Regions from separate parts of the Homo sapiens genome. Here all the other regions are linked to region 1. Evidence: promoter capture Hi-C in 16 types of primary human blood cells and fetal thymus (Javierre and others, 2016). All regions are on one chromosome and are shown on one strand. The core of a region is centred on a gene start or on the middle of the fragment in contact, and the rest is flanking DNA. Distances in the headings are between cores, read along the strand shown.

Region 1 (5,321 bases), core at 2,624-5,123:
ATCTGCCTCTCCACCTTGCTTTCTGGAATGCGGCAGTCTCACAGATAAGAAGTAGAAAAGACTTCAAATACCCAACTTCACATTTGCTTTTCTGTTAGTTGATGCAAATTAAAAAAAGAAAGACCTTCCTGAAGTCAGAATGTGTGATAAAAAATATTATTTTTAAAGTGGCAAGAATAAATATTTAGTTAGACAGTTTGACACAAAATTTTGCCTGGCTGTGCAGCATCTCAGATGACAAAACAAGCCCTTGCCTACAGGGCTAATTACGGACTACTAAATTATTTTTATTAAAACCCTTTGGAACATTATGAGGGATGAGGCAATGTGGTGTTGAAGAATAACTCTAGTCTGGAAATCTGGAGATCTAATCCTGACTCAGCCACTAATAACCACCAACATTCATCTGCCTAGTGTACACAGTTTACAAAGTGTTTTTACATACGTTCTGCATGGGTTGGGTGACCTTAGGTAAGTCATTTAACTCTTGGTGTCTTGTGTCAACTTTAGAAATGAGGGCATTAAACTATACCATCTGGGGTCACCTCCAGTGCTAACATCCTAAGCGAGGGAGACATGTGCCTTGGGACCTTTACAAATGTATCTGTAAGCAAATCAGGGCAGATGCATTCTGTTTTAAAAAACTATATTTTCTGGCCAGGCGCGGTGGCTCACGCCTGTAGTCCCAGCACTTTGGGAGGCCGAGGCGGGTGGATCATGAGGTCAGGAGATGGAGACCATCCTGGCTAACAAGGTGAAACCCCGTCTCTACTAAAAATACAAAAAATTAGCCGGGCGCGGTGGCGGGCGCCTGTAGTCCCAGCTACTCGGGAGGCTGAGGCAGGAGAATGGCGTGAACCCCGGGAAGCGGAGCTTGCAGTGAGCCGAGATTGCGCCACTGCAGTCCGCAGTCCGGCCTGGGCGACAGAGCGAGACTCCGTCTCAAAAAAAAAAAAAAAAAAACTATATTTTCTGTTCGGCTTCTGACAAATGTTACTCGGCTAAATTCAGGAATAGCTCATAAGACGTTTGCTGCCAGTTAGTTGGCTCAGTTTCTGGAGAGTACCACATTAAGACCCTGGGTTGGATTCTCATATGGGAACTTTCCTCCGTTCAATAGCCTCCTACTATGCCTAACTCCAGCCAGTCATCTTACAAATACAACCCCACAATGTGTGCTGGCGTGCAGGAAGGACTAGAAGAAACTCAGCTTCACAATGCATGCACTCTCAGGACGGTAGGTCAGAAACGGCATCATCACACAGGAATACTATCAATAGCATTCTTTCTCAGTTCCAAGATTCACAAATCCCTCCCTCAAGTCTTGCCATTTCCCGAGGGTTTTAATGTTTCTAAAATGAGGATGCACCTTGGAATCAGCATATATATTTTGATCTGGTAGCATTAGATTATTTTACCTAAAAGCTATTGGTAAATTGCTGGTGTGTCTTAGAATCAAGAATACAGTCCTACAAAACCTCAATACCATTACATAGATTTAGGTCTAACTTGGTTCAAATCATGTCCCTCTCCTTGATCTTAACAATTACATTCAGCAACAGCTGGATAGGCAATGTATAAGACAAGTATTAGTCCTGTTTCCTCATAGTAGCAGTTTAAAAGGCATTCCATCATTATCTCATAAAACACTGGTATGGATTTCAAAGGCAAATTAATCCATATAAAAACTACTCTGATCCTCTGAAAATGTACTATCCCATAGCAAACTGGAAAGGAACATTTTACTTACACCCTCCTGATCTATCTAGCCTTGACACATTTTCTTCCTCCTTAATTCACAACCCTCCACCCCAGTAATATCGCTGATTCCCAAAATACACTCAGCCCAGGAGGAGCAGCTCTCCAGTACAGCTGTCTGCTCCTGCCCTGCTCGGGTATTTTGGTGAGCTATGTGACACAGGACCACACAGAAGGAATGCCACTCTCAGGCCCCACAGTTCCCACTGCACCACAGGCAGGTGCATCCCACCAAACCCCAGTCTGGCATTCGAAACAGAAGAAACTGCCCTGCTGGATGGGGGCTATAGTTTTCCTGAACTTCATCTCTATGTTTAAAACTAGGGCGACAGCCGTCTTGGCTACTGTAAACTAATCTGATGGGCATGGGGGCAGGGAGTGGCTATGAGGAGGCTGCCAATAGGCCATGATTGAGCAAAGTAAAGAGTGAAATAGTTATTTCTCATTGTTTGCAACCCCGGAAACTCCAAATGAGTGGCTCCTTCACCATGATTTTTAGAAATGGACCATGCGTTCCTTTTACCATCTGGAGTAAAAATCCCAAAGCCTCTTGTGCGGTAGATCTGGCTTATATTTACACGTGCTTTCTAAAAGCACACTGAAATTTGGAAGCCAAATAAAAAAGAAGCTGACAATGAGGTCATATAGTAGTTAGGGGCCCTCAAGTTGAGACATGTTTATTAAGAGTTTCTGGCTCTGGGCACTAACTCTGACTTCAACTCAGTTCTTCTGGAAAAAGAAAACTGTTTGGGACCCTCTTCTATTCCAAGAACAGGGACTGCAAGATGGGCAGGTGGAGGGGTAGCAAACATAACCCAGGGAATTGTCCAAATATGCTAGAACCCCTATCTGGTGACAGCCCCACAAAGACACACAGCTGGAGGAGGCACAGTGTACAGGCCTCACACCTACACCATGGAGAAGCTTCGATTTTTCTCCTTCCTCTCAACTCTGCACACGTTATGTTAAAAACTCACTACTATCCAATTAGTTAATTTACAGGAATCCAAGATCAAGTCCTGCCACAGCCCCTTCATATATAAACAGTAAGCACTTCCTATGGATGGTATCAGGCCTTTTTCCAAACCTCACATTATACCAGGGTTGTAGTGCGATTTAAAAAAAAAAAAAAGCATTTTAAAGAGTTCCGCAAGATGCTTATTCACAACACCACACCGGAAGCGCAGGAACTTGGAGCTCCCAAACGCAACCTCTTCTCCCTTCCCTCCACTACTTCTACTCCCCGCTCCGCAACACCGGCCGGGCAGTAGCTCAGCCCACTAGAAGGCCACCAGGCACTAGCCGCGTTCATTAAACGCTAGATGATCACGATGGGGCTGAACCCTTCCCAGCCAAATCTATTCGGAAAGCCCTGCAAGCTCTGAGCAGCCAGTGAGAACTGTCCAGACCTGCTTCCCCAAACCAGCCAGGCAGGAGCGTGTGGGGAAGAAACCCGAGGCCCCCAGGCTGGGCCTGGCCCGATGTTCCCCCTCCCCCAAGTCTCCCCTCGCTCTCCTGTCACTCTTTTTCTGGCACATCACTGGGGAGATCCAGAGAGGCCGGGAGATGTCAGGCCTAGGAGGAGTGAGGAGGAGGGAGAAGGGATAAGGGCGGACGGGAGGTAGTTTGGAGAAAATATCAGCCCAGGGCAGAGGTGCGGTGGCCACGTCTAGTGGGGAAGGAGCCTCAAGGTGGACCCGGAGAGACGGAGGGAAGGGGAGGGGAGGGAAGGGGAGGGGGAGTGGCTGGGGAGGCCGGGCCGCCAAGGCCGGAGGGAACCCGGCGACAGGGATGGAGGGGGTTGACCGGCGCGGGGAAGGCGCGGTCGGGATGCGGGAGTGCGGGTGGGGAGGCAGGGGCGGGGGGAGCCCGGTTCCCCTCCCCCAGCCCGGGCCCTGGCCTCCCGCTGACTCAGCCCCACGGCGTCCGTCGCCTCGGCCCGGACTCACAGTGCACGAGGCGGCTCCGGCGGAGGCGGAGGGGGAGGGGACAGGTGGCGGGGGCGCTGCGGCAGAGGCTGCGGCTCCGGCCGGCGGCTCCGGGGCGGAGGGTCCTCGCTGAGGCCGCCGCGGTCTCCGGCTTCAACGCACAGAGACTGCGGGGGACGAGGGCACTGCGCAGGCGCGATGCGGCCGCCGCTGTCAGTCCGAGCGGGGCGGGGCCAGGGCACCCGCCGTCTCCAAGGCAACTGAGCCGCGGGAGGACAGCCCCTACCTCCACCTTGCCTTAGCGATTGCGGCGGGAGGCGGGGGGCGACAGGAACAGGCCCACTGCGTTGCCGTAGCAACGAGGAGAAGAGACCGCTTCAGACGTGTGCGGCGGTACCGAGGGAACGCGCCTACCTCGTCACCATAGCAACTGGGAACAGCCCCTTCCTTTTTCCCTGGCAACAGGGTAACAATCCCTCCGCCCTGTCTCATCACAGGAGGAACAACCGTGTGCACCTGATTTCAGTAGCTGGATGACGGATTTTCATCTTTTATGGCTACGGAAAAGGAAAAAGAGACGTTTTCTTCTCTTTCAGCGACATGGAAGAGCTAAGGCTGGGTTTTATCTCCTCTCTTGGTGTGTGGGTTCCAATCACAGTCTTTTTCTCTAATTCCCAAATTCATTTTTTTTTCTTTTTTTTTGGGACGGAGTTTCACTCTTGTCGCCCAGGCTAGAGTGCACTGGCGCGATCTTGGCTCACTGCAACCTCTGCCTCCTGGGTTCAAGCAATTCTCCTGCCTCAGCCTCCCGAGTAGCTGGGATTACAGGCGTGCGCCACAATGCCTGGCAAAGTTTTTGTATTATTAGTAGAGACAGGGGTTTCATCATGTCGGCCAGGCTGGTCTCGAACTCCTAACCTCAGGTGATCCACCTGCCTCGGCTTCCCAAAGTGGTGGGATTACAGGCGTGAGACACCGCGCCCGGCCCAATTTTTTTCTACCTGTTTTAAACATCCCCTTTCATCTCCTACCAGAGAGTGTGCCCTTTACCCTTAAATCGAGCTAACGAAATCGTCTATCCACAGACCACTTGAGTTTTTGTCAGCCTTATTGTCTCTCTCCCATTGCAAGGATAAACACCTCATTTCTTCATCTTGCTCACTATCTGGTTTGCAGTCCACTTCCTCATAACTAGCTCCCTCTGACATGTCCATTCGTTTTCCCGAATTTCCTCCTCCAAGCATGCTGTTATGGATCTCCTCGGTTCTTCTGGATCTCCCTTTCCTCTCCACACTTGCTGTCCTTGTCCAGCACTGCTCTGCCCGGGGCTCCAGTATGTTCTTTCCCCCTGTGACTTCAGCATCTTGGTTCTCTTTGTGCTGATGTCTTCTGGCTCTTCCTCCCTCAGCCCTGATTCCCATGGATGCCTTGAGGTCACCTTTGTACCAACCCTGTACATTCCTCCTTTCTTACACACACCTTACACTATCGTCATTTGTTTACGTGTCTGTGTCTCCAGACTATGTGACCCTGGTGGGCAGGAATTCTGTCTTTTTCATCAGCTCCCTCAGCATCCACCACAGCATGTGACACATAGCAGATTCTGAGAAATGCTTATGTAATTGAATCAAATGA
Region 2 (5,283 bases), core at 460-2,959, 350 kb before region 1:
AAAAGGATAAACAAGCATTAAGCACTTGATCCATTTTAGGCACTTCGCATGTGTCACTTGTATGAGGTAGGTATTGCCATTTTACTTAATGATAAAAGAGTTGGAGAGGGTAAGCTGTCTGTAAAAGGTCAAGGTCATATAACTAGTAAGTGGTGGTGCTGGGGATTTGAACTCAGTCTAACTTCAGAATATAACTTTACAGCCTACCACATTTGGTCTCCTATTACATTTACTTTTGTCAGTTCACTCCTCTAGCATGCTGTTTTGCAAATAGCATTTTAGTTAAATGTTTGTGACATTGACTTCTCTTGCTTCCTTACTCTGTTTCTCCAGGATTTGTGGCAGGAGTCTCCCTGCCTTAATCATAAAGGAATTGAGTAAATTGGGGGTGGAGCTGGGCAGGTGGAGAGCCTGAAAGAGTGTGCCTCCTGACGTGTGGGCTCCCTGGAGATAAGTAAAGCCTGCCAGCCTGACAAGTCCATTGCCAGGGATATTGTAGACATTTCCAACGCTCTAGAAAGGATATTGCTCTATATTCACAGACTCTTAGAATGTTAGAGCTGGAAGGGGATTAAGAAATCACCTAGCTTACTGGTTTTCAAACATGCAGTTGTGGGCCCCGTTAAAAATGGGTCTTTTGAGAAGTATATACTTGGAAAAAAAAGTTGGAGAAGCAGCTGTAGTAATGCTGCCCCTCTCATCCCCACACACAAACATCTGAAAAATCCCTAGAACTGAGGAGCCGAGTTTGGAAAGTCAATAGTGTAACCTCCCTCATTTTACAGATGCAGAGCCTTAACATCAAGTCTAGTCATGACCAAGGCTGCACAGCCCGTTAGTTTGGGAGCCAATACCTAATGTCTTCTGAGGTTCTAATTCCAATGCTTTCTGTGGAAGAATCATACATACGCAGTATTTCTTAAGTGGCTGTTTGCGGCAAAGCACTGAAATAGTTGCTATGAGGACGACAAATATGAACGACCCCAGTTTTACCCACTCATGAGCTCACAGTTGAGGCCAGTGAAGAACCTAGAGACAAAACACGCACTTAACTATAACTTATAGTTCCCTAACTACGATTGCTGAGACAAGGATCGTAGTTATGGCCAGTTATGCGGGGAGGGTGGGCTGAACAATGAGACTACCGGATTGAGAGAGGCCCGGGTCTCGCGCGGAGAGAAGGGGCAGGAGGAGGCAGAGGGTCGAACTTAGGTGAGAAATATGGCTGGCGGGCCCCACACCAGGGTCCGGCACAGTCCAGCTGGAAAAGGGGTCTCTCACAGAGTGGGTGGCCGAGTTAGGCCGCTCTCCACGGGTATTCATGGCTCGGTCCACCCCCATTCCTGTCCTGGCTGCGTAATCCGAAGGACGCTGGGAGGAAGGGGCGGGACTTGTGGCGGAAGTTCCTAGGCCAGCCTGTCACGTGGGAGGGAGGCTCGGCGCTCAGGTGAGTGGCGGGTGATCTGCGGTCTCTGGCTTAAAGCGTCGCAAGCCATGAGTGCCCACAAGGTGTGTGGTCATCCTATATCCGGGCAGTGACGGGCCCTATTTTCGGTTTGGAGCTGGACTCAGGAAGGTTACAAACTGGTTCCAACCAAGTCTGAATCTGGAGACGGACCAAGCTATCTTTTGAGGCACCCAAGCTCTGGGTAGAAGCCAGAGCAAAGCTGTCCTCATGAGTGTCTCCGTCGGGAACGGAGGCTTCCAGGTGGTCTGGCTTCAGGAATGAGGTTGGGGTGGCTGGTGGCTGCTACCAGGAGTCCATAGCTTCCCACAGCCTTTCTCTCTTCCCCAATTGTCTAAGGCGACTCCTGCGACAGGAAGCTGTCTGGGAAGCATCCTTCATGTGGCCTCTGCCCCTTTAAGTCACATTGGAAGTGGGAAGGGGAAGGGAGTGGGCACAAGGGAATGTCAGGCGGCTTCTTAGTCGTGGAGAGGGACGGTGGGGGTGACCCCCTCTCCTCTTGGCTTGACAGGAAGCATGGCACTCTGGCGGGCATACCAGCGGGCCCTGGCCGCTCACCCGTGGAAAGTACAGGTCCTGACAGCTGGTGAGTGTCCCTCTAGGACTTGAGTGGGACCAGGGCAGACTGATTTGGAAGCCAGAGGCTTGCCCCACTGCACCACCCTCACTTCCTGTTTCTATTCGGCTCTCTTGAAGGGTTGGCTGTCTTTCATCCTACACTGTCCCCAGTCTGTTTTGGAGGGTGGTCCCCAAGGCTGTTTTTAAGGGGTATGCGTAGTTGGCCAAGCTGTGCAGTAGGGTTTTAGGATTTCAAAGTCCTCAAAAAGCTGAACAGTCAGCCCTGAAGGATAAAGGCATTGCCCCAGGAGGCCTCAACTTGGAAAACATTTTACCGTATGCAAAGCACTTTCATATACGTTATGGCATAGGGCCCCCACAAAGGTGTGTGAGCTAGGAGGGTTACTTGAGTCCACATTAGATCACACCTAATAAGTGCTGAATCAAGACTCTTACCCCAGTTTTTCTTGGTATTTTTTATTGTGAAACATACAAAAGAATGATTAAGATGTGTATGTACAGTTTAAATGGCATTAAAACTGAACACTCCTGTGTCAGTAATCAGCTTTGAGACCTCTTGAGTGCCTCTCCGTAATTCACCCAAAATTTCCTGAGTTTTGTTTATATCGTTCATTTGCTTTTGTTATCATTTACTGCCTAAATATGTATCTCCAAGGTTAGTATATTGGTATCTGATCACTCCATCCTGATCCATTTGGAGTGATCAGATACCAGTCACTCCAAATGCAGTGATTGAGTACTAACCTCACAGAGGTAATGCAGTGACCTACCTGCATTTGTTACCATCTTCATTTTGCAAGTTAGCTAATGTAAGAGGATGGCATGAAGATAAGTAAGTCTTAGAGGGGGAATGTCAGAAGGCCTTAGAACATTGGGGTGCAAAGAGTGATCACATTAAGATGAGGTCTTGCCCATGTTTAGAGAAGGGGAACAGGATTCTAGTGATGACTGGCCTTCTGAGAAGAGGACTATTGGAAGGGATTGGGGGCTACTGAAGGCCAGAGTGGAACAGGGATCCTGTGACCAGAACAGCCCTGCATCGGCACAGAAACTTAACTGCATGAATGGCCAGGAGATGGATTCTTTGGCCCTTCCCTGGGCCCCTCTCCAGTCTCCGGTGCCCAACCACCTCTTGTCCTGTCCTCAGCGTCCGTCAGCCTGTATGACTCACCTGGCTACGTGTGTGGTGACTCATGCTGGACAGTGTGGCTATGATGGGAACTGACACGCTGGGCCCTTTGCCCAGGCTCAGATTCCCTCAGGGCCCATAACTGCCAGATGGAAGATTCCCCCTTGTGGTCATCAAGAATAGGGAGGGAAAGAGTCCTTATATTTCCCTACCTGAGGCATCTGCAGCTGACAAGGGCAGGAGCTAGAGCTCCAAGGAGGCCTAGGTGCCGACATGTGGCTGGAGTTCTGGGCTCTTGGTGCTGGAGCCCTTCAGCTCCACAGCCTCAGTCTTCCTGAGGCTATGCTGACGTCCCAGCTCAGCCCTGAAGCAAAATGTAGCCTCCCAGCACTTTTCCCAGACTTTTTCAGACCATCCAGACTTTTCCTTTCCTGCTGTTCACTGTATTTGGATCAAACTACAAATAAAAGGTGGAAGTGGCTTTAGTTCACTGAGCCATTTTTGGACCCCAGCACAGTAGTTCCTAAGGTCCCATGGGATAGCTCATCACACTGGAAAACAGTACAGAGATTTCAGACTTAGAAGACCAGGATTTGAATCTTAAAACCATAGCACCTAGTAGGTGCATTAATCAGGACAAGTCAGTAAGCTTCTTTGAGCCTTAGTTTCCTCTTTTAAAACTTGAGTTTAGGGACTGGGCGCGGTGGCTCACACCTGTAATCCCAGCACTTTGGGACGCCGAGGTGGGCAGATCACGAGGTCAGGAGATCGAGACCAACCTGGCTAACACGGTGAAACCCCGTCTCTACTAAAAATACAAAATTAGCCGGGTATGGTGGCGCATGCCTGTAATCCCAGCTACTTGGGAGGCTGAGGCAGGAGAATCACTTGAACCCATGAGGCAGAGGTTGCGGTGAGCCAAGATTGTGCCATTGCACTCCAGCCTGGGCAACAAGAGCGAAACTCCATCTCAAAAAAAAAAATCAACAAAAAAAAAATCTTGAGTTTAGTTATATGACCTCACAGGGTCAGTATAGGAGTATCACTGTGAAAAGGTTTTGGACATTTTTTTTCTTTTTTTTTTTCTTCGAGATGGAGTCTTGCACTGTTGCCCGGGCTGGAGTGCGGTGGCGTGATCTCGACTCACTGCAACCTCCGCCTCCCGGGTTCAAGTGATTCTCCTGCCTCAGCCTCTTCAGCAGCTGGGATTATAGGCATGCGCCACCACGCCCAGCTAATTTTTTCTATTTTTAGTAGAGACGGGATTTCACCATGTTGGCCAGGCTGGTCTCGGACACTTGACCTCGTGATTCACCCGCCTCGGCCTCCTAAAGTGCTGGGGTTACAGGTGTGAGCCACTGAGCTCAGCCTTTTTTTCTTTTTCTTTTTTTTTTTTTTTTGAGATAAGGTGTCACCCTGTTACCCAGGCTGGAGAGTGGTGGTGCTATATCAGCTCACTGCAACCTCCGCCTCCTGGGTTCAAGCAATTATCATGCGTCAGCCTCCTGAGTAGCTGGGACTACAAGTGCACAGCACCACACCAGGCTACTTTTTTGTATTTTTAGTAGAGATGGGCTTTCTCCATGTTGGCCAGGCTAGTCTTGAACTCCTGACCTCAAGTGATCCGCCCACCTCAGCCTCCCAGAGTACTAGGATTACAGGTGTGATCCAGTAGGCCCCACCTGGAAATGTTTTTAAATGCTCAGTGAACTTAAAGACTCAACAGGTTGGTTCTTTCTATGAGTGTTGGCAACACAGGCACAATAAACTATTTTATTATTATTATTATTTGAGACGGGGTCTTGCTCTTTTGCCCAGGCTGGAGTGCAGTGGCATGATCCCATCCTGAACTGTGACTATGCCACTGCACTCCAGCCTGGGCAACAGAGGATCCTCTGCCTTAGCCTCCCGAGTGGTTGGGACCGCGGGCTTGCACCACCATGCCCAGCTAATTTCTTTTGTTTTTTGGTAGAGATGGGGTTTTGCCATATTGCCCAAGCTTTATTCTTTTTATAGTGGCGTTTGGGTTAGGTTTGTTCCACTTGCCATAATCTGAACATGGATCACTATCTTAGCCTTGGGTTCCGGAAAGCAGAGCCTGAAGCTTATG
Region 3 (6,059 bases), core at 656-3,155, 280 kb before region 1:
AGCCCCAGCCCCAGCCCCAGTGGGCAAGACCAAAGTGTGGCGGGGAGTGGGGTGGGAGTCAGGGGAATAGATGTGACTAGTTCAGGGGCGGGGACTCCCAGGCCTCAGTGTGGCAGGGTGTGTTGAAGGCCTGTGGTGCCATCTCCCCATGGTTCATGTGGAGCCACGAACATCCTTTCCCTGCAGTCCATTTGTCTGTGTGGCAGGCTGGCTGGCTGGGGGCATCTGCCTGTCTATGTGCTGTTGGTGTGCCTATGCCTGGGGGAGGTCAGTAGGGGCCCCCTCCCCACATGGCCCTCGCTCTGTCTATGCAGGGGCCCCAAAGCCCGCACTTTGTCCGTGTGTCTTAGCCCTGTGGTTTTGTCTGTGTGTGTGTGTGTGTGTGTGTGTGTGTGTGTGTGTGTGTTCTTGGTGCTGTGGCCTGTGTGTCTCTGTGCCTATGTGGCTGTGCTATGGTTTCTATGAGTCTGCTCCATCCATGTGTCTGTTTGGGGGTCTATCTCTCCATCCCTCTGTTGGTGCTGTGCCCTTGGCTATCCCTGAAAGAGGGAGGACTCCGCTGCAGCTCCACCAATAAACTTGTGTCTCACTGCATCTTTCAGCCTGTGTGCTGACTCCTCAGGAGGGGGAAGTCAAATAGGTCACTTGAGAACAACAGAATCCCTCCTGTCCCTTCCCAGCCTCTGGAGTGACCTCCCACAGACCTCCTGTCCCTTCCCAGCCCCTCCACCCTCAGATGGAGGGTAAAAGCCACCAGTCTCTTTACTCCCCTTCCCCTGGCTCACAGCATGCCTGGGTCCTTGGCTCAGGGACAGTCCCATGTGCCCTGGGCTTGGTTGCAGGAGAATGCTGGAAGGTAAGGAGCCAAGGAATCCCTGGGAGTCAGTCGTTCTCAGAGGTCCCTGCATGCCAGTGGGCCTCAGGCTGGCTGGAGGGAGGCTGGGTCCCTTTGAGGGAGAATGGCTAGACCATAGCACTGATGTGGGCTTGGTTCTCAGGCCATCTAAGGTGTCCAGCGGTAGGGACCCCTCAACCCTGATAGCAGCCAACCCTGAGTCCAGGTTTAGGCTGTGAACACCAAGGACCTCTTTTACACCTATTCCCCCTTTGTCTTAAGAACTGCATATTTTGACACATTAAGTCTTAAAATCAGGCTCATTAAGGGATTGTTGATTTTCTCTTTAAAAAAAATCAAACTCAAGCTGGACATAGTGGCCTGTGCCTGTAATCTCAGCCCTTTGGAGGCTGAGGCAGGAGGATTGTTTGAGCCCAGGAGTTCAAGACCAGCCTGGGCAACCTAGGGAAACCCCTGTCTCTACAAATAATTTAAAAATTAGCTGGGTGTGGTGGTGCATACCTGTAGTCCCAGCTATTCAGGAGGCTGAGGCAGGAGGATTGCCTGAGCCCAGGAGGTCAAGGCAGCAGTCAGCCATGATCATGCCACTGCACTTCAGCCTGGGCAACAGAGCAAGACCTTGTCTCAAAAAAAAAAAAAAATCAAACTCACTGGGTTTGGTGGCTCATGTCTGTCATCCCAGCACTTTGAGAGGCTGAGGCAGGAGGATCGCTTGAGGCCAGGAGTTCAAGACCAGCCTGGTCAACATAGTGACACCCTGTCTCTACAAAAAAAATTAAAAATAAAAATAAATTAGCTACGTGTGGTGGTGTATGTCTGTGGTTCCAGCTACTCAGGAGGCTGAGGTGGGAGGATCACTTGAGCCCAGGAGGTTGAGGCTGCAATGAACTATGATCATGCAACTGCACTCCAGCCTGAGCGACAGAGCAAGACTCCATCAAAAAAAAAAAAAAAGAAAAAAAAAGAAAAATCAGCTAGGCAAGATGGCTCACGCCTGTAATTCCAGCACTTTGGGAGGCTGAGGCAGGCAGATCACTTGACCCCAGGAGTTCAAGATCAGCCTGGGCAACATGGTGAAACCCTGTCTGTACAAGAAATACAAAAATTAGCTGGGCATGGTAGTGTGTACCTGTAGTCCCAGTTACTTGAGAGGCTAAGTGGGGAGAATCACTTGAGCCCAGGTTGTCGAGGCTGCAGTGAGCCATGATTGTGCCACTGCACTCCAGTCTGGGCAACACAGTGAGACTGTGTCTCAAACATGGTCAAACCCTGTCTCTACTAAAAAATACAAAAATTTGGCCGGGCACAGTGGTTCATGCCTGTAATCCCAGCACTTCAGGAGGCCGAGGTGGGTGGATCACCTGAGGTCAGGAGTTCGAGACCAGCCTGACCAACATGGAGAAACCCCGTCTCTACTAAAAATACAAGAATTAGCCAGTGTGGTGGCGCATGCCTGTAATCCCAGCTACTCAGGAGGCTGAGGCGGAAGAATTGCTTGAACCCAGGAGGCAGAGGTTGCGGTGAGCCGAGATTGCATCAGTGCACTCCAGCCTGGGCAACAAGAGTGAAACTCTGTCTCAAAAAAAAAAAAATTAGCTGGGCATGGTGGTGGGCACCTGTAATCCTGGCTACTCGGGAGGTTGAGGCAGGGAGAATCGCTTGAACCCGGAAGGCAGAGGTTGCAGTGAGCTGAGATTGCGCCACTGCACTCCAGCCTGGGCGACAGAGGGAGACTCTGTCTTAAAAAAAAAAAAAAAAATTAGACTCTGTGCTTTGATTTTAGATCTAGTGCTTCAGGCCTTCCCACCATGTTGATAAAATCCCAGCCCAAAGCAAGGACGTTGAGCATTTTCAATAGCCCATGCATATTTCTGTGAGCCTTCCTCATAATAGAAATATCTTTATTATCAGATTATTTTTACTATAAAAGCAATATATACTTGTTTTAAGGGTACAACAAAGGAAAAGTATATAAAGTAGAAAGTGAATGTTTCCCCTGTAATCTTACTTTCCGAGAAAACTGCTAATCCTAGTATGGGGTCAGTATTTCTACATAATAACAAAAATGGGGTCATCTTATAGGTGAGATCGTGTTACCTGTGTTTATGACTCAACCATGCAGCCTAGACTCATCTTTCCATGTCAAGACCATAGATTTCATTCCTTTTTAAAGGTGAGGCTTTTGGACTCATCAGAGGTAGCCCCCTCCCTGATGTCCAGCTGGGAGCCTTAGCCCAGGCTGGGTGAGACGCCACTGCCCACGTCAGGGTGTGGGAGGCTGGCGAAGCGAAGGGCTGGCAGTCCATCACGCCCGGCGGCAAGGCCGCCCCAGCTGCTCGCCATGCTTTGCTGGTTCCTGATACTTTCTCATTTTACGTCTCATTGATTATAGGCCCCAGGTGACAGGATGGGGGTGGGGAAGAGTGAGGAAATCGAGGAGAGGGAAGGAGGGTGGGGAACAGGAGGACTCGATTTTCACCCTATGAAATGCTTTAAGCCACAGCCTGTCCTATCTGTGCGATGCTGGGTCCCTTTGCAGGGGAATGCTCAGGGCAGGTGAATGCCTTCACCAAGCATCCAGTCCATCTTCTGCCCATAGAAGGAGGAGACTCAGGGAGGGAAAAAGACTTCCCCAGGGTCAGCCAGCACATGCCCAGGCTCTCATTCCCACTCCAGGCCCCTTTGAAGCTCTTGCCTAGTTGAGTTTCTCAGCAAATCTTTCCTCAGCCCTTCCAGCAGCCTGCTGCCGCTGGCACTCCCGTCCTGGGGCTCTGGGGTCAGACCCTCTGGTTCTGCTCTGCCTTTACTATTATTCTAGTCACAGTTAACCTCTCTGCGTCTCAGCTTTCTCAATTATAAAATAGTGATTACGTGATATCATGGGTGTGAATGTGCCTGGTATATAGAAGGTGTATATAAGAGTTAGCTTTTGGGTTGAACCCAGGATGCAGGGGAGAGATTTCAGGAGAAGAGAGTGGCCCGGCACCCTGACAGCAGGGACAGGAAGCAGCAATCATTGAGCTTATTTTGTGCAAGGCACTGTGGTGCGGACAGTATCCTGTGCACCTGACAGATGGAGAAGCAGGCTCACCTGCCCATGGTCGTGCAGCTGGTTCCACTCGGTTCTGAGTTCTGGCCCCTGGACGTCCCCAGCCCTCTCTCTATGCCATCCTGCCTTTCCACTCACCTTCGGGCATCGGGAGGATGAGGAGACAGGTCTCTGGAGCATTCTCCCACCTTCACACTGGGCCACCATCCCCGGGAGCCCAGGAAATCCTTATCTGCAGAGCTGCCTGCACTCCCCCATTATCCTCCTATCCTCCTTCTCCACTCGCTTATCCAGAAGTCCCTTTCCCCTGGGTGCCCTTCCTTGATGATAGATGGAGGAGGGAGAGTCGAGGGGAAGGGACTGGGCCTGGGAGGGGTGAGGGGAAGGCAGGGGAGAGCAACGCAGGTGGGGGAGGGCCCATCCCTCAGCCCAGCCCCAGCTCTTTACACAGCTGATTAACTAGGGGAGGGGTGGGCTTTCGGGTCAGAGAGGAACCAGAGAAGAGGGACAGCCAGGAAAGGGGTGAAATGGAGAGTGGAGGGAGAGAGAGGCAGGCCGGGTTTCCCTGCTGAGAGCTGCAGGGCTATTCAAAGGAGAAACTGGAGATCAAAGGGCCAGAATGCAGGGTGCGGACCTGAGAGGCTTCGTGCTGCAGTGACTGGGCGGAGGAGCATGGGCACATGGGCAGGTCCTGCCCTTCTCCCAAGGCTGCCCACCTGGGGGTGGCCCAGGGTGAGTCCTGCACCACGTTTAAGAGGCGAAGGCCAAGGCCCAGGGCCCAGCCGGCAGGGTCAAGAGGAAGCCCGGGTGATAAGCACCACCCTCCAGCAGCCCTCCCGCCCGGTCAGGGCCCCGGTGCAGCCGGCTTAAAGGAGGCATTTGGCCCTCCCGCTTCCTAGAGCCCGGCTGGCTGGGGAGCAGCGCCCCCAACTGGGGCATACGCCACCGCAGCGGCAGAGGCAGCCGGAAGTCTTTGCAGGGAGTCTCAGGACTGGGGTCAGGACGGGAAGACCCTTTTCCCCTCCGCCAGGCAGAGACCCTCACTGTGGAGAACTGTAGTCAGGGTGTTCCTTTTATAGTTGGAGTACTCTTTCTTAACTCTCCAACCTCCCTTCCCCCAACTCTGGCAGTTCCCAGGGCCTCCCTGTCCCTGGCTTAAGTCCCAGGGACACCTCGTCAGTACCTGGTCAGTACCTTCCAAGGGGTGCTTGGAGGGGCAGTTCCCAGGCCCCAACAGGGCAAAGCCTGAGGCCCCAGATGCAGCTGTGTGGGGGCTTTTTCCTTTTTTGAGATGGGGTCTTGCTATGCTGCCCAGGCTAGCCTCAAACTCCTGGGCTCAAGCAATCCTCCTGCCTCGGCTTCCTGAGCAGCTGGGACTCCACGTGTATACCACCACACCCCCAGATGCAGCTGTGATCACCAGCAATCCCATACACAAAGCAGGCCCCGTTTCCTTAACTGGCAAGAGAAAGAACGTGGGGAGAGTGGGTAGGCAGGAAGGCCCGGGTTGCCAGAGCCTGTGCCTCCCTCCTTCAGCCCTGGTCCTAGCCTTTCTCTGCTCTTGCCATTCCCCGTGTGGTACCCCAGACCCCCTCATCTGCTCTCTGGCTACAGCATCCTGGGGACAGGAAGAAGCCCAGACCTGGAGAAGCTCACTCAGAGGACACGACCCAAACAGCCTTAACCTCCGATTCCATTCTTTTGTTTGCTTTGGCTCAACAACGATGGCTATAAATTTTTAAAGGACTGTAGCCAAAAGCCTGGGGAGAAATAGAAGGGAACTGAACCCAGAATATTAAAAAGATAAGAAAGCTTACCAAAATAAGCAGGGTTCAGACCCTACAACAACAAACTTGCTTTTTCCTGACCACGGAGTCTGCCCAAGCATGGCCTCCCTGCTTTCCCCCATCCTGCTGGACCAGGACGTGGTCACACAGGACTGCTGGGAGACACAGTAAAACGGTGAGTGGCCTACTGACGGCACACTCCTTGAAGGAAGGCATGCTCCCCCAGCACTTAGCTCACAGCCAGACACCAAGTACATGCTCAGTATGACTGCTGGTGATGGAAGGAATGGGTGGAAGGATGGTGAACAGATAAATGTCAGGCCAATGCAAAGTCCATAAAATATCTTCTAATCCCCAGCTCCTACCA
Region 4 (6,069 bases), core at 2,102-4,601, 270 kb before region 1:
TAACCCTGGGAACCCAGGTGGGGGCCTGGACCCACACTTCTCCTCCAAGGTATGGGGAGCTGGGAGAAAGAAAGCCATTACCCTCAGGACCAATCACCTCCATGTCTAGGAAGTCACTCACACCCCAGGACTGCACTTCCAACAACCTCCTTATGCTCACTACCACTCCCAATGCTCATTTTTTCTGGGAACTAGAAACAAGGGCAACAGGACTGCTGCCATCTTCTGGAGCCCACACTTTTACCCATGTATTCTTTCACTTGCAGTTCTACTCACTGGCTCATTCATTCTTTCAACAAGTATTTATCAGGCACCTATCACAGACCAGGTACCCTAGAGGCTAGGGTCCCATACGGATCAAGACCCTGTCCTAGTAGAGTCCTGAGGCCTGGCCTGCTTCCCATTTTCTTGCTAGGGCTGTCCCACAAGCCCCACTGGGCAGAGGAGGTACATGCTGGATTCTCTCACCATGGTCTGAGGCAAAGCAGTCGATGACAGCCATGTTCTCCCACAGGGCTTCCACATCCTGGCGGGAGCCAAGCTCAGGCCGGACCTCCCCCTTCCCAGGCCCCAGGCGCTCCAGGTCATCATGGCTTAGGAACAGGTGGTGGGGAGCCACCTCGCAGGTCACTGGCAAGCCCCGTGCCTTTGCAGCTTTAATTAGCAGGATCTGGGGAACAATGGGAAGATCCAGAAGAGGCACCACCCATATGCCTTGCCCTACACAAAGTCCCAATGGCCAACATCCCTGCTCAAAAAATGATGATGTAGACCTGCAAGGGTGCTGGCTCGAGACCCTCCTCCTGCTGTCTCCAGACTCTCCTCCTGCTGTCTCCTGCCCCTAAGGACTACCCTGACCTTTGGTGTTACTGGGAAAGCAACAGGGACAGCAGGATCTCAGGTGTACTCTTACCTCCTCCTTCCGTGCCACGTGACATATGTGCACTGAGCGCTGAGTGAGCTGAGCCACCATGAGGACAGCAGCCACGGTTTGCTGCTCTGCGTGAGCCACAATGGGGAGGTGGGAGGGCCATGTCTCGAAATGCTGGGAGCAGAAAGAACTGATGAAGGAGTGTGCAGAATCTCTGACTGTGCTCATCAGAGCCCAGAGTCCCCAGGAGCTCCCCTGAATCCTCACTGCTACCAGCCCACTTAGGCAGGGGCCCACAAGCCAGGAGACACTGGGTGGTGGCCTCCTGCCACATGCACACTCCCTACCTCCATCCACTGGACCACGCTGTCCAGCCGCAGCTCAGAGAAGGTCTCATTGAGGTAAAGCTTCAGCCCGGCTGCAGACCCGGCCACGGTGCCCAAGGTTCCTGCATTTTCAGACGAGGCCCCAAGGAATAGCGCAAAGTCGCACCGGGCGCCAGCCTCTGCCAGCTGGAGAGGATACACAGAGGTAAGGCTCACTGGCACCCATGCCCACACAGGCTAGCCTGGCACCAGTGGCCTGGGCCCATAGGGCGGGGCAGAAGGAAAAGGGCTCAGGGAAGCAAGGGTGGCTGGTAGGGGCATATGGGTCTCCAATACCAGGAAGAGTGCAGTGGCTCACCTTCTGGGCCAGGGCCAGAGCAGGGGCGTCAATGATGGGGGGCCGGGTATTAGGCATGGCACACACCATGGTGATACCCCCAGCCAGGGCAGCGGCTGTGCCTGAAGCAAAGTCCTCCTTATGTGTCCCACCTGGTTCCCGCAGGTGCACATGGACATCAATCAATCCTGGGAGAAAATGGAAGCAGCAAGATTACAGGAAGATTCAGAAATAGGAAGGGTGAGCTGGACATGGTGGCTCACGCCTGTAATCCTAGCACTTTGGGAGGCCGAGGTGGGCAGATCACCTGAGATCAGGAGTTCGAGACCAACCTGACCAACATGGTGAAACCCCGTCTCTACTAAAAACACAAAAATTAGCCTGGTGTGGTAGCACACACCTGTAATCCCAGCTACTTGGGAGGCTGAGGCAGGAAAATCGCTTGAACCTGGGAGGCGGAGGTTGCAGTGAGCCGATATCACACACCACTGCACTCCAACCTGGGCGATGGAGTAAGACTCTGTCTCAAAAAAAAAAAAAAAAAAAAAATTCCTCAGACAAGGCCACTGTGGACACTGTGGATTAAGGAATGAAAGAGTGAGAAACATTCTGGGGTCTTCACAGTCTGTGCAGTCCAGGACAAAGAGTGGGCCCCCCAGCCATCCTTCACCACACTGCAGGTCTCTATGCCAGGGGCTGCCAGTGTTCAGAAGCCAAGTTCTCCCCAAAGACTTACCCGGCAGTCGCACAAGCTTTTGGGAGGTCATACAGTCAACATGCACCTTCAAAGGAGGGGCTGGCCCGATCTGGCCTAGGGCCTGCAAGTGGAAAGCAGTCAGCTTTAAGGGAAGGGTGATCCTGGGAGTTGTAGGGAGAGATGTGGTTTTCCCATAAACCAGGCTCTGCACACTCTATACCCACCATCTCTCCCTCTGTAGCCACAAAGCTTTATTACTAGCATGGCTGTTCCATACTCACTCCTCCCTCTTTCTTCTTCCCATCAACACTGGCAGTCTCCCTCCCAGCACATGGGTCTCAGTTACCTCCACAAAGAGTTTGGTGCACTTGATATCGATGATTAGGGGCACGGAGAAGTCAGCGGCCAAGCGTCGGGTGCGGTAGCCCTTGGTGACAAAGGAAGAGAGACGCCGGCCCCCAGCTCCACGCATTGACAGGTTAATCACCAGCTCAAAGTTTTTCTCAGCTAGCTGCTCCAGGATGCTCCGCTGTGGTGGGCACTCACCATCCACAGCCTCCTCAAAGTGCCAGTCCACAGCTGTTACCTGCCAACCCGGAGTCAAGGTCAGGGCCAAGCTGTCTGGCAGCGGTCAGGAAGGCTAGCCTTAAGGGAGAGGAGCTGGCCCAGGAGCCCATGATGAGGAGACTGAGGACCCATAGGGTGGGCACTGAGGGCTGCCTCTATTTGATACTGGCAAAGTGTATTTCTTGGCAGGAAAGATATCTACACTAAGTAAGATGGGTTACCAAGGACTAGGTGCAGTATGAGCTCACACACATGTACACAGAGAAAATCCTGGAAGGAAAAATATCAGAACAGTGGTACAGAGATTTTAAGAGACTTTTCTCTTTGCTTCCTGTGTATTCTGCTTTCTGCATGGAATATAGCTTACTAGTATAATGGTAATAATAAAAGCAGGGGAATAGGAGATAATTCTTTGTTTTTTTTTTTTTTGAGACAGCATCTCACTGTTTCCCAAGCTGGAGTGCAGTGGTGCACTCACTGCACACTCGCAGCTCACTGCAGCCTCTACCTCCTGGGCTCAAGAGATTCTCCTGCCTTAGCCTCCTGAGTATCTGGGACTACAGGTATATGCCACCGTGCCCAGCCCAGATAATTCTTTGGTGCAGTATTTTCACCCCCTTGGGGAAGGGCAGCAGTGGGGTAGGTTGCCAGAGTTCCTGCACCTTGACGCCATGCTCAGTGTAGAAGTCAGCTGTGCCGAGACTGGCATAGAGGCTGTAGCCCAGGCTCTCCAGTAGCCGCACAGTTGGGAGCAGCTCGCTTTTGTTCTGAAACCAAACAGAAGGATGAAATTGTTTTCTTCCTGTCTTCCATTTCAAGGTCAGCCCTGGCCCAGGGAGCCACGGCCCTCGGGAAGCCCTCCTGGATTCTGATACCTTATAGCTGCCAATGGTCAGCAGGATATTCTTCTTGGGGATCTTAAAGCCAGTGCTTAGCATGGCCTTGAGGTATGCCTCACAGCGGCTCTCCCCAAAGCCGGCCACCTCCCCAGTACTGGTCATTTCCACACCCAACACCACGTCAGCACCCGCCAAGCGGGAGAAGGAGAACTGAGGCACCTAAAGGGGCGGGAGGGAAGAGAGAGGGCCAAGGTGTGAGAGGACCTCCTCCCTCACCAGCAGAGACGGACACAGTACCCTGTGCTTGATCCCATCTGAATGGCAGGGTCAGCCTGCCCTCTCTGTGTGCCCTCCTGCTTTCCAAACGTACTTGGGGTCATCCCTCAGCTTCTGCTTAGGATGTGCCCTTGCAAATAAAAAACCTTAACCATCCTTCAAAACTCAATTCAAATAGCACCCCTTCGCTCAAGCCTTCCCAGATCACCCCTTTTGGAAGCAGCACCTCCTGTCTCTTGAACTCCTGCAGCATTCTGTTTACAGGTCGAATATGTAGTTTTACCACGGACTGTTCTATACCAAAGCTTTTTTGGGGATCCAACTTCTCTTCCCTCCCATTACCATAAAGTAAGCTCTTAAGGGACAATGACCACCTCATTACCCCCACGATCCGGCAATGCCTTGCAGTCAGTGCCTGGTTTACATACTGACAACTCTGTGTGGTGAGTGAACTCTCTCCCGCTATTTTTCTGCTAACCCCAAGGGTTTCGATATTCCTTACCTTTACTCCCACGACTCCAGAACCAGTCATTAGCCCCACAGGTTCCACTTCTTCCCCCATGATGACCCGCGTGGCCAAGGCTACTAGGTCCACACCCAGTGTCTTGGAAACGAAGGGGAAGGAGCGAGAGACACGTACGTTGCATTCAATAACTTTCAGCTGGTCATCCTGGGGCAGAGAAGACTGGTCAGGCCTTCTGCAGGTTGGCCTTGCTGACACTATCTATAGGCCTAGACTCTTCCTCTCCGTCCTCAGCTCTGGGGGATCAGACTGAGCAGGGTTCAGGGTCACTGACTGTCATAAGCCCCAACACCATGAGCTCTAGCTACAGCCCTTTCCCTCCAGCTTCCCTGCCTACTTGGATGAAGGCAGGAGACAGTGCAGGGCTTCATGGCACTGTGGCCAGCACAGAACATGCAAGAGCTGTGGCCCTTTAGTTCTTTCCTTTAGCCTTATTACCTTGGCAATGAGCTGCAGATTGAAGGGTCCTGTGACCTGTAGCTCCTGGCCCACAGCATGCACAATGGCTTTGATCCGCTCCAGGGTTTTGGCAGTGATATCTTGTGGGGGGGTCACCAGCGTCGCATCACCTGAATGCACACCTGCATTCTCCACATGCTCAGAGATGGCGATGGCTGCCACCACACCATCAGAGGCCACGGCATCCACGTCAATCTCCTAGCGGGGGGACACAGACAGTGGGACATAGGGCCACTTTCTTCTCTCACTTACTCTAGGATTGTCTCTTCCTTTAACGAGCCCCACATAGCCCACTGTTCCCAGCCCTGGTGCCTATGATTCTGCTGGACCAGAGAAGGAAGTCTCCTCCAGGGCTGGCAGCATGCCCTCAGAGACTTCACTGTCTGCAGCCTCCCACCTTAGCCTCCTGGATGAACTTGGAGATGACCACGGGATGCTCTTTGGAGACGGCTGCTGCGCTGCTCAGGAAGCGCTCCAGGTCTCCATCCGTGTAGGCCACATTCATAGCAGCACCGCTCAGCACATAGGAGGGGCGCACCACACAGGGGTACCCCACGGTCTGGCAGAATTGGCGAGCAGACTACAGGAGGCAGGGAGCTTAGCTGAGTTGTTCACACTTTCCCCCAAGCATCATCCAGCCTCCGGGTAACCCACCAGGTCCCAGCCCACCTCGAGGTCACTGAGCTCCCTCCACTGAGGCTGGCTGATACCAATGGTGTCAAGGAGCCGGGAAAACTTGAAACGGTTCTCAGCCGAGTCAATGGCTTCAGGGGAGGTGCCCAGCACCCGGCACTGCTGCCGATGCAACGCCATGGCCATGTTGTTGGGCAGCTGTCCACCCATGGATAGGATCACACCTTCAGGGTTCTCGAGCTCATAGATGTCCATCACCACCTACGTTGCAGGGGGAGAAACAAGTGGTGGCAGCAAAAGAGGGCAGGAATCTGAGCCTTCCTGCTCACTGCTTCCCTCAGCCGCCACCAAGTTTCAAAGAATCTTAGGTCAGCCAGCTGTTCTACTCGACCCTGGCCACTCAAGCTACCAGGAAGCCTCCATCTCCCTCACCTCAAAAGAGATCTCATCAAAGTAGAGTCGATCACACATGTCATAGTCGGTGCTGACTGTCTCTGGGTTATAGTTCACCATGATGGTCTTATATCCCATCTGCAAGAGG
Region 5 (5,856 bases), core at 2,252-4,751, 390 kb before region 1:
ATTTTTTTATTTTTTAATTTATTTTTTTATTGCTAATTCTTGGGTGTTTCTCACAGAGGGGGATTTGGCAGGGTCATGGGACAACAGTGGAGGGAAGGTCAGCAGATAAACAAGTGAACAAAGGTCTCTGGTTTTCCTAGGCAGAGGACCCTGCGGCCTTCCGCAGTGTTTGTGTCCCTGATTACTTGAGATTAGGGATTGGTGATGACTCTTAACGAGCATGCTGCCTTCAAGCATCTGTTTAACAAAGCACATCTTGCACCGCCCTTAATCCATTTAACCCTGAGTGGACACAGCACATGTTTCAGAGAGCACAGGGTTGGGGGTAAGGTCACAGATCAACAGGATCCCAAGGCAGAAGAATTTTTCTTAGTGCAGAACAAAATGAAAAGTCTCCCATGTCTACTTCTTTCTACAGAGACACGGCAACCATCCGATTTCTCAATCTTTTCCCCACCTTTCCCGCCTTTCTATTCCACAAAGCCGCCATTGTCATCCTGGCCCGTTCTCAATGAGCTGTTGGGCACACCTCCCAGACGGGGTGGTGGCCGGGCAGAGGGGCTCCTCACTTCCCAGTAGGGGCGGCCGGGCAGAGGCGCCCCTCACCTCCCGGACGGGGCGGCTGGCCGGGCAGGGGGCTGACCCCCCCACCTCCCTCCCGGACGGGGCGGCTGGCCGGGCGGGGGGCTGACCCCCCACCTCCCTCCCGGACGGGGTGGCTGCCGGGCGGAGATGCTCCTCACTTCCCAGATGGGGTGGCTCCTCACTTCTCAGACGGGGCGGCCGGGCAGAGACGCTCCTCACCTCCCAGACGGGGTCGCGGCCGGGCAGAGGCGCTCCTCACATCCCAGATGGGGCGGCGGGGCAGAGGCGCTCCCCACATCTCAGACGATGGGCGGCCGGGCAGAGACGCTCCTCACTTCCTAGATGTGATGGCGGCTGGGAAGAGGCACTCCTCACTTCCTAGATGGGATGGCGGCCGGGCGGAGACGCTCCTCACTTTCCAGACTGGGCAGCCAGGCAGAGGGGCTCCTCACATCCCAGACGATGGGCGGCCAGGCAGAGACACTCCTCACTTCCCAGACGGGGTGGCGGCTGGGCAGAGGCTGCAATCTCGGCACTTTGGGAGGCCAAGGCAGGCGGCTGGGAGGTGTAGGTTGTAGCGAGCCGAGATCACGCCACTGCACTCCAGCCTGGGCACCATTGAGCACTGAGTGAACGAGACTCCGTCTGCAATCCCGGCACCTCGGGAGGCCGAGGCTGGCGGATCACTCGCGGTTAGGGGCTGGAGACCGGCCCGGCCAACACAGCGAAACCCCGTCTCCACCAAAACCAGTCAGGCGTGGCAGCGCGTGCCTGCAATCGCAGGCACTCGGCAGGCTGAGGCAGGAGAATCAGGCAGGGAGGTTGCAGTGAGCCGAGATGGCAGCAGTACAGTCCAGCTTCGGCTCCACATGAGAGGGAGACCATGGAAAGAGAGGGAGACCGTGGGTAGAGGTAGAGGTAGAGAGGTAGAGAGGTAGAGAGGTGGAGGTAGAGGTAGAGCAGTTTAATGGTCACTACTTTCAATGGTGTAGGATGAGTAGCTGATATTTTGGCTTTTACTTTTTTTAAAAGATCATTATCAATACATGGATTTCTATATTTTGAACATACTACTTAATCATCAAAATTAAGCAGAGGATCAACAGGGTTGCTTTATGCTTTAGAAAGATAACCGGGCCAGGCATGGCAACTCACACCTGTAATCCCAGCACTTTGGGAGGCATAGGCAGGAGGATCGCTTGCGCTCAGTAGTGTGAGACCTGCCTGGGCAATATAGCAAGACCTCATCTCTATTAAACAACAACAACAAAAAAACCTGGAAGTGGTGGTATACACCTGCCACACACCCCAACTATTCAGGAGGCTGAGGTGGCAGGTTGAGGCTGCAGTGAGCCGTGATTGCACCACTGTCCTCCAGCCTGGGTGACAGAGCAAGACCCTGTCTCAAAACAAACAAACAAACAAACAAACACCTAGTAGAAATTAGAGGCAGAGAAGTAGATCAGTGAAAAGATTGGTTATAAATCAAAATTACAAATGCACCTAAAACTTTGGTTCACAATTCCACTTCTAGAAATTATCCTACCCATATAGTTACACATTTGAAGTAATTTAGATGCAAGGTTACTTATAGCAGTGTGATTTATAATAGCAAGGGACCATTGTTTATAACAGCAAAACCATGTAAATATGCATCAATATCAACAAGGCACTAGTTATACCACATCCACCCAATTAAATGCTAACTAGTTATAGCACAGAATGAGAAAGGTTTTTGTGTACAGAAATGGAATAATGGCCAAACTCAGTGACTTACACCTGTGATCGCAGCACTATGGGAGGCTGAGGCAAGAGGATCACTTCAGGTCAGGTGTTCAAGACCAGCCTGGTCAACATAACGAGACCCCATCTCTAGAAAAAATTAAAAAATTAGGCCGGGCGCGGTGGCTCATGCCTGTAATCCCAGCACTTTGGGAGGCTGAGGCAGGCGTATCACAAGGTCAGGAGTTCGAGACCAGCCTGGCCAACATAGTGAAACCCCTTCTCTACTAAAAAGACAAAAATTATCCGGGCTTGGTGGCGGGCGCCTGTAATCTCAGCTACTCGGGAGGCTGAGGCAGGACAATTGCTTGAACCCGGGAGGCGGAGTTTGCAGTGAGCCGAGATCGCGCCACTGCACTCCAGCCTGGGGACAGAGCAAGACTCCATCTCAGGAAAAAATAAAAATAAAAATAAAAACGGGGTCTCACTATGTTGCCCAGGCTGGTATCGAATTCCTGGGCTCAAGTGATCCTCCCCCGCCTTGGCCTCCCAAAGTGCTGGGATTACAGACAGGAGCTACCATACCCAGCCAAAGTCATGCTTTTCTACTCCTACTCCTTCCCTTCCTTGTCCTCTTTCCAAGCTCTCTCGGGCCCATCCCTGACTTCACTACTGGCAGAATCCTCCAGCGGCCGGCGGCGAGGACTTCTTTGTCTCCCAGACTCCGCCTTGGGCTCGGACGCCGCCAGGGTTGCAGGTACAGACTCTCTGGTCTAGCTGGCTCTTCCGGCCACAGGCGCGGCAGTCCGGCCGGAAAGGCCGGATTCAGGGATCCAGAGCGCGAGCCCGGCCTGGGAGTCCGCCTACTCCCGGCTCCCGTCGAGGCCGCGTGGGATCCCGTTGGCCGCGCAGGCGTCGATCTCCCCTTTTTGACACTGCAACTCCCATGAGGCCCTGCAGCGTCCCTGGCGCCGCTGAAGACGCCCTGGAACTCGGCTGGCTTCGGAGGGCTCGGTGACTCTGGCCGCGCTGCATTATGGAATACAGAGTCTAAGAGAAAACTAGCCCGGCACCGACTCCGGACCAAGCACACGTGTTTACCTTGTGCACTGGGGTGGGGGCGTCAGTGAAGAGCAGCTAACAAGATTTCGTCATAAGACCGCGACCAGACAGGCGGCGCCATCTTCGAACTTAGACTTCCGGAAGGACTTTGGCGAGGGTGAGTGTATCGCCGCAGCGGGTGTGTGGGGGGCCCCACAATTACTCCTCCCCCTTCTTTTGCCATAGCACTAAGATATTGGGAACAAACTCCTGGCTCCGCTCTTCTCCCAGCCACAGCAGCGCGCCTTTCAGCGTCTGCGCTCCTACAGAGCACCATCATGCTCCGCACCTTCCCTACTGTGGCCACCGTGCACCCCCCATCTCTGCAAGCCTCGGGTCTTGCCCTCCTCCCCCACGCGGTGTCGGTAACGCGGAAGCCTGTGTCCGGGCGTAGGCGCTGCATACGTAGCGTCCCTCGAACTCGGCGAACCTACAGTAGTCCTTGTTAGAAAAACCAGGGCTCCTCTCCCGCACAGGCTAGGGGAGAAATCTACCTTCACGCCCAGGACTGAAGAAGGGCAGGTGATGGCCCCTAGAGTGGTTGTGGGTCAATCTCTTTCAGCTGTGTCCCAGCCTCTTCCTCGAGGAGGCTCTTTAACCCCGAGGGTTGTGCCCCGCGCGCTGCAACGCCATTGGCGTAACCAAGGGCCAGTTGTGTTTCCCTGTCTAGTCCTTTTGTCCCGTGGCAAGTTGGCTGCCTGTTGGGGAAGTCAGAGGTGGCGACTTCAACTCCGTCGGAGGCAACTCACTTTGTTGGAGGGATGTATAGGGTATGGACAAACCTCTTTGTTCCAGAGGCATATACAATTTTAAGTCAATCCCGTGCCATCACTATTTTTGCAATCTCTTATCAATTGTACTATTGTTTTCTGAATAGTTCTCTTTAAATTGACTTACTTAAAAAGTTTAAATGCATTAGTCTCGACCTAAGCAATATAAATGAAACCGTGGGTTTCATGGGCTACTTATAATTGTTTATGTAAGTTGAAATAAAAGCACTAGTCATTAAAATGTTCGTTTTCGTACCATTAAAATCATCTTGCATACCGCCAGTTGTACCCTAGGAACACTTTAGGAAACAATATATTAAGCTAAGCAGTGTATTCAAAGTAATTTCATACTTAAGGTGCAGTGTTGTGTCATTATTTTTTCTTGGCTGGGGAGGTCAAGCTGGCATCCTGGAGCAGCATGGGAACCAGACAGATTGGGGTGCAATGGAAGGTTTTAGAAACTCAGTACGAATTTACTGATCATCTATTCCTTTACTGTGTATCCAGAATTTGTACCATTACATCCTGCTGCTGCCTTCCATGAGAAGTGTATTTTTTTTTTTTTTGATACGGAGTTTTGTTCTTGTTGCCCAGGCTGGAGTGCAGTGGCGTGATCTCGGCTCACTGCAACCTCCGCCTCCCGGGTTCAAGCGATTCTCCTGCCTCAGCCTCCTGAGTAGCTGGAATTACAGGCGCGTGCCACCATGCCCGGCTACTTTTGTATTTTTAGTAGAGACGGGGTTTTACCATGTTGGTCAGGCTGGTCTCGAACTTGTGACCTCGTTATCCGCCCACCTCGGCCTCCTAAAGTGCTGGGATTACAGGCGTGAGCCACCGTGCCCGGCCAGGCAAATTATATGTACAGGCAATTCATAAAAGTCATATGGATGTCCAATATATAGAAAGAAGTTGCTGACACCAATTATTATCAGTGCAAATAAATAGAGTGGGGAAGAATTCTTTCACCTATCAGATTGGCGAAAATTAAAAAGATCAGTAACGGTATGATAAAATGGGTACTAATATACATAAATAGTTTTAATTTTGGTGAGCCGTTTGGTAGTATCAAATTTTGAAATGTGCATGTTCTTCAGTGTAGTACAGTAATTCCATGTTCAGATGATTATTCGAGAAAAATAATTTATTGATGAATTAATGAAGAGATTTGTACTAGAATATTTATTGCAGTATTTTTTGAAATAGTATTTTAACTCATTTGTTCATTAAATGAAGATTGTCTAAATAACTAATTCTATGGAATGCCATGCAGCAATTAGGAAGAATGAGATAAATATATGTATACTGATGTAGAAAATCCTTTAAAAAAAACCGGAATCTTCCTCTGTCACTCAGGCTGGAGTGCAGTGGCGTGATATCGGCTCACTGCAACCTCTCCCTCTGCCTCTTGGGTTCAAGTGATTCTCCTGTCTCAGCCTCCCGAGTAGATGGGATTACAGGCGCCTGCCACCACGCCGGGCTAATTTTTATATTTTTAGTAGAGATGGGGTTTCACCATGTTGGCCAGGCTAGTCTCCTGACCTCAAGTGATCCATCTGCCTTGGCCTCCCAAAGTGCTGGGATTACAGGCGTGAGTCACAGCACTTGGCCTAGAAAATCCTTAAGACTTGTATAGAAGCTCTCTTAACTGATTTCCATTTAGCTCCTTATGTTAACTGAC

The links. Contacts are between HindIII fragments. The CHiCAGO score rates a contact against its expected background, and 5 or more counts as called.
Region 2: a fragment that was not itself captured here is called in contact with the fragment with the promoter of MAPRE3 in region 1 in 2 of 17 cell types (naive B cells and neutrophils); the score reaches 5.3 in naive B cells.
Region 3: a contact is called between a fragment that was not itself captured here and the fragment with the promoter of MAPRE3 in region 1, in 5 of 17 cell types (naive B cells, total B cells, naive CD8 T cells and 2 more). The highest score is 8.7, in naive B cells.
Region 4: a fragment that was not itself captured here is called in contact with the fragment with the promoter of MAPRE3 in region 1 in 1 of 17 cell types (naive B cells); the score reaches 5.5 in naive B cells.
Region 5: a contact is called between the fragment with the promoter of GTF3C2 here and the fragment with the promoter of MAPRE3 in region 1, in 12 of 17 cell types (total B cells, neutrophils, total CD4 T cells and 9 more). The highest score is 23.6, in total B cells.

What each region holds. Positions count from the first base shown.
Region 1 is chr2:26,969,189-26,974,509 of GRCh38, reverse strand. It overlaps MAPRE3 (microtubule associated protein RP/EB family member 3), which reads right to left and starts at 3,873. Exons shown (of 7, transcript NM_012326.4): 1 at 3,708-3,873. RefSeq lists a silencer at 3,659-3,988. The HindIII fragment of the contact is 16,247 bases long and covers 2,685-5,321 here.
Region 2 is chr2:27,319,216-27,324,498 of GRCh38, reverse strand. MPV17 (mitochondrial inner membrane protein MPV17) reads left to right here and starts at 1,402. Exons shown (of 8, transcript NM_002437.5): 1 at 1,402-1,447; 2 at 1,977-2,051. The coding sequence starts at 1,982. RefSeq lists enhancers at 593-1,565, 1,688-1,747, 1,798-1,847, 1,858-1,947, 1,958-2,007 and 3 more. The HindIII fragment of the contact is 4,230 bases long and covers 1-3,824 here.
Region 3 is chr2:27,249,107-27,255,165 of GRCh38, reverse strand. It overlaps SLC30A3 (solute carrier family 30 member 3), which reads left to right. Exons shown (of 8, transcript NM_003459.5): 8 at 1-1,482. Among named protein-coding and RNA genes, the nearest start is that of SLC30A3, 11 kb to the left of the region's middle. RefSeq lists enhancers at 4,120-4,913, 4,914-5,708 and a silencer at 5,104-5,284. The HindIII fragment of the contact is 7,629 bases long and covers 1-5,719 here.
Region 4 is chr2:27,233,032-27,239,100 of GRCh38, reverse strand. It overlaps CAD (carbamoyl-phosphate synthetase 2, aspartate transcarbamylase, and dihydroorotase), which reads right to left. Exons shown (of 44, transcript NM_004341.5): 19 at 5,961-6,059; 20 at 5,565-5,789; 21 at 5,293-5,475; 22 at 4,875-5,093; 23 at 4,416-4,583; 24 at 3,674-3,856; 25 at 3,461-3,565; 26 at 2,578-2,817; 27 at 2,271-2,352; 28 at 1,556-1,722; 29 at 1,219-1,383; 30 at 914-1,045; 31 at 469-670; 32 at 1-59. Among named protein-coding and RNA genes, the nearest start is that of CAD, 19 kb to the right of the region's middle. The HindIII fragment of the contact is 1,738 bases long and covers 2,483-4,220 here.
Region 5 is chr2:27,354,409-27,360,264 of GRCh38, reverse strand. It overlaps GTF3C2 (general transcription factor IIIC subunit 2), which reads left to right and starts at 3,501. Exons shown (of 19, transcript NM_001035521.3): 1 at 3,501-3,526. It overlaps GTF3C2-AS2 (GTF3C2 antisense RNA 2), which reads right to left and starts at 3,500. Exons shown (of 4, transcript NR_183827.1): 1 at 3,409-3,500; 2 at 2,363-2,457; 3 at 805-1,380. RefSeq lists enhancers at 3,171-3,300, 2,880-3,493, 3,311-3,650, 3,701-3,980, 3,494-4,107 and 1 more. The HindIII fragment of the contact is 6,500 bases long and covers 1-5,856 here.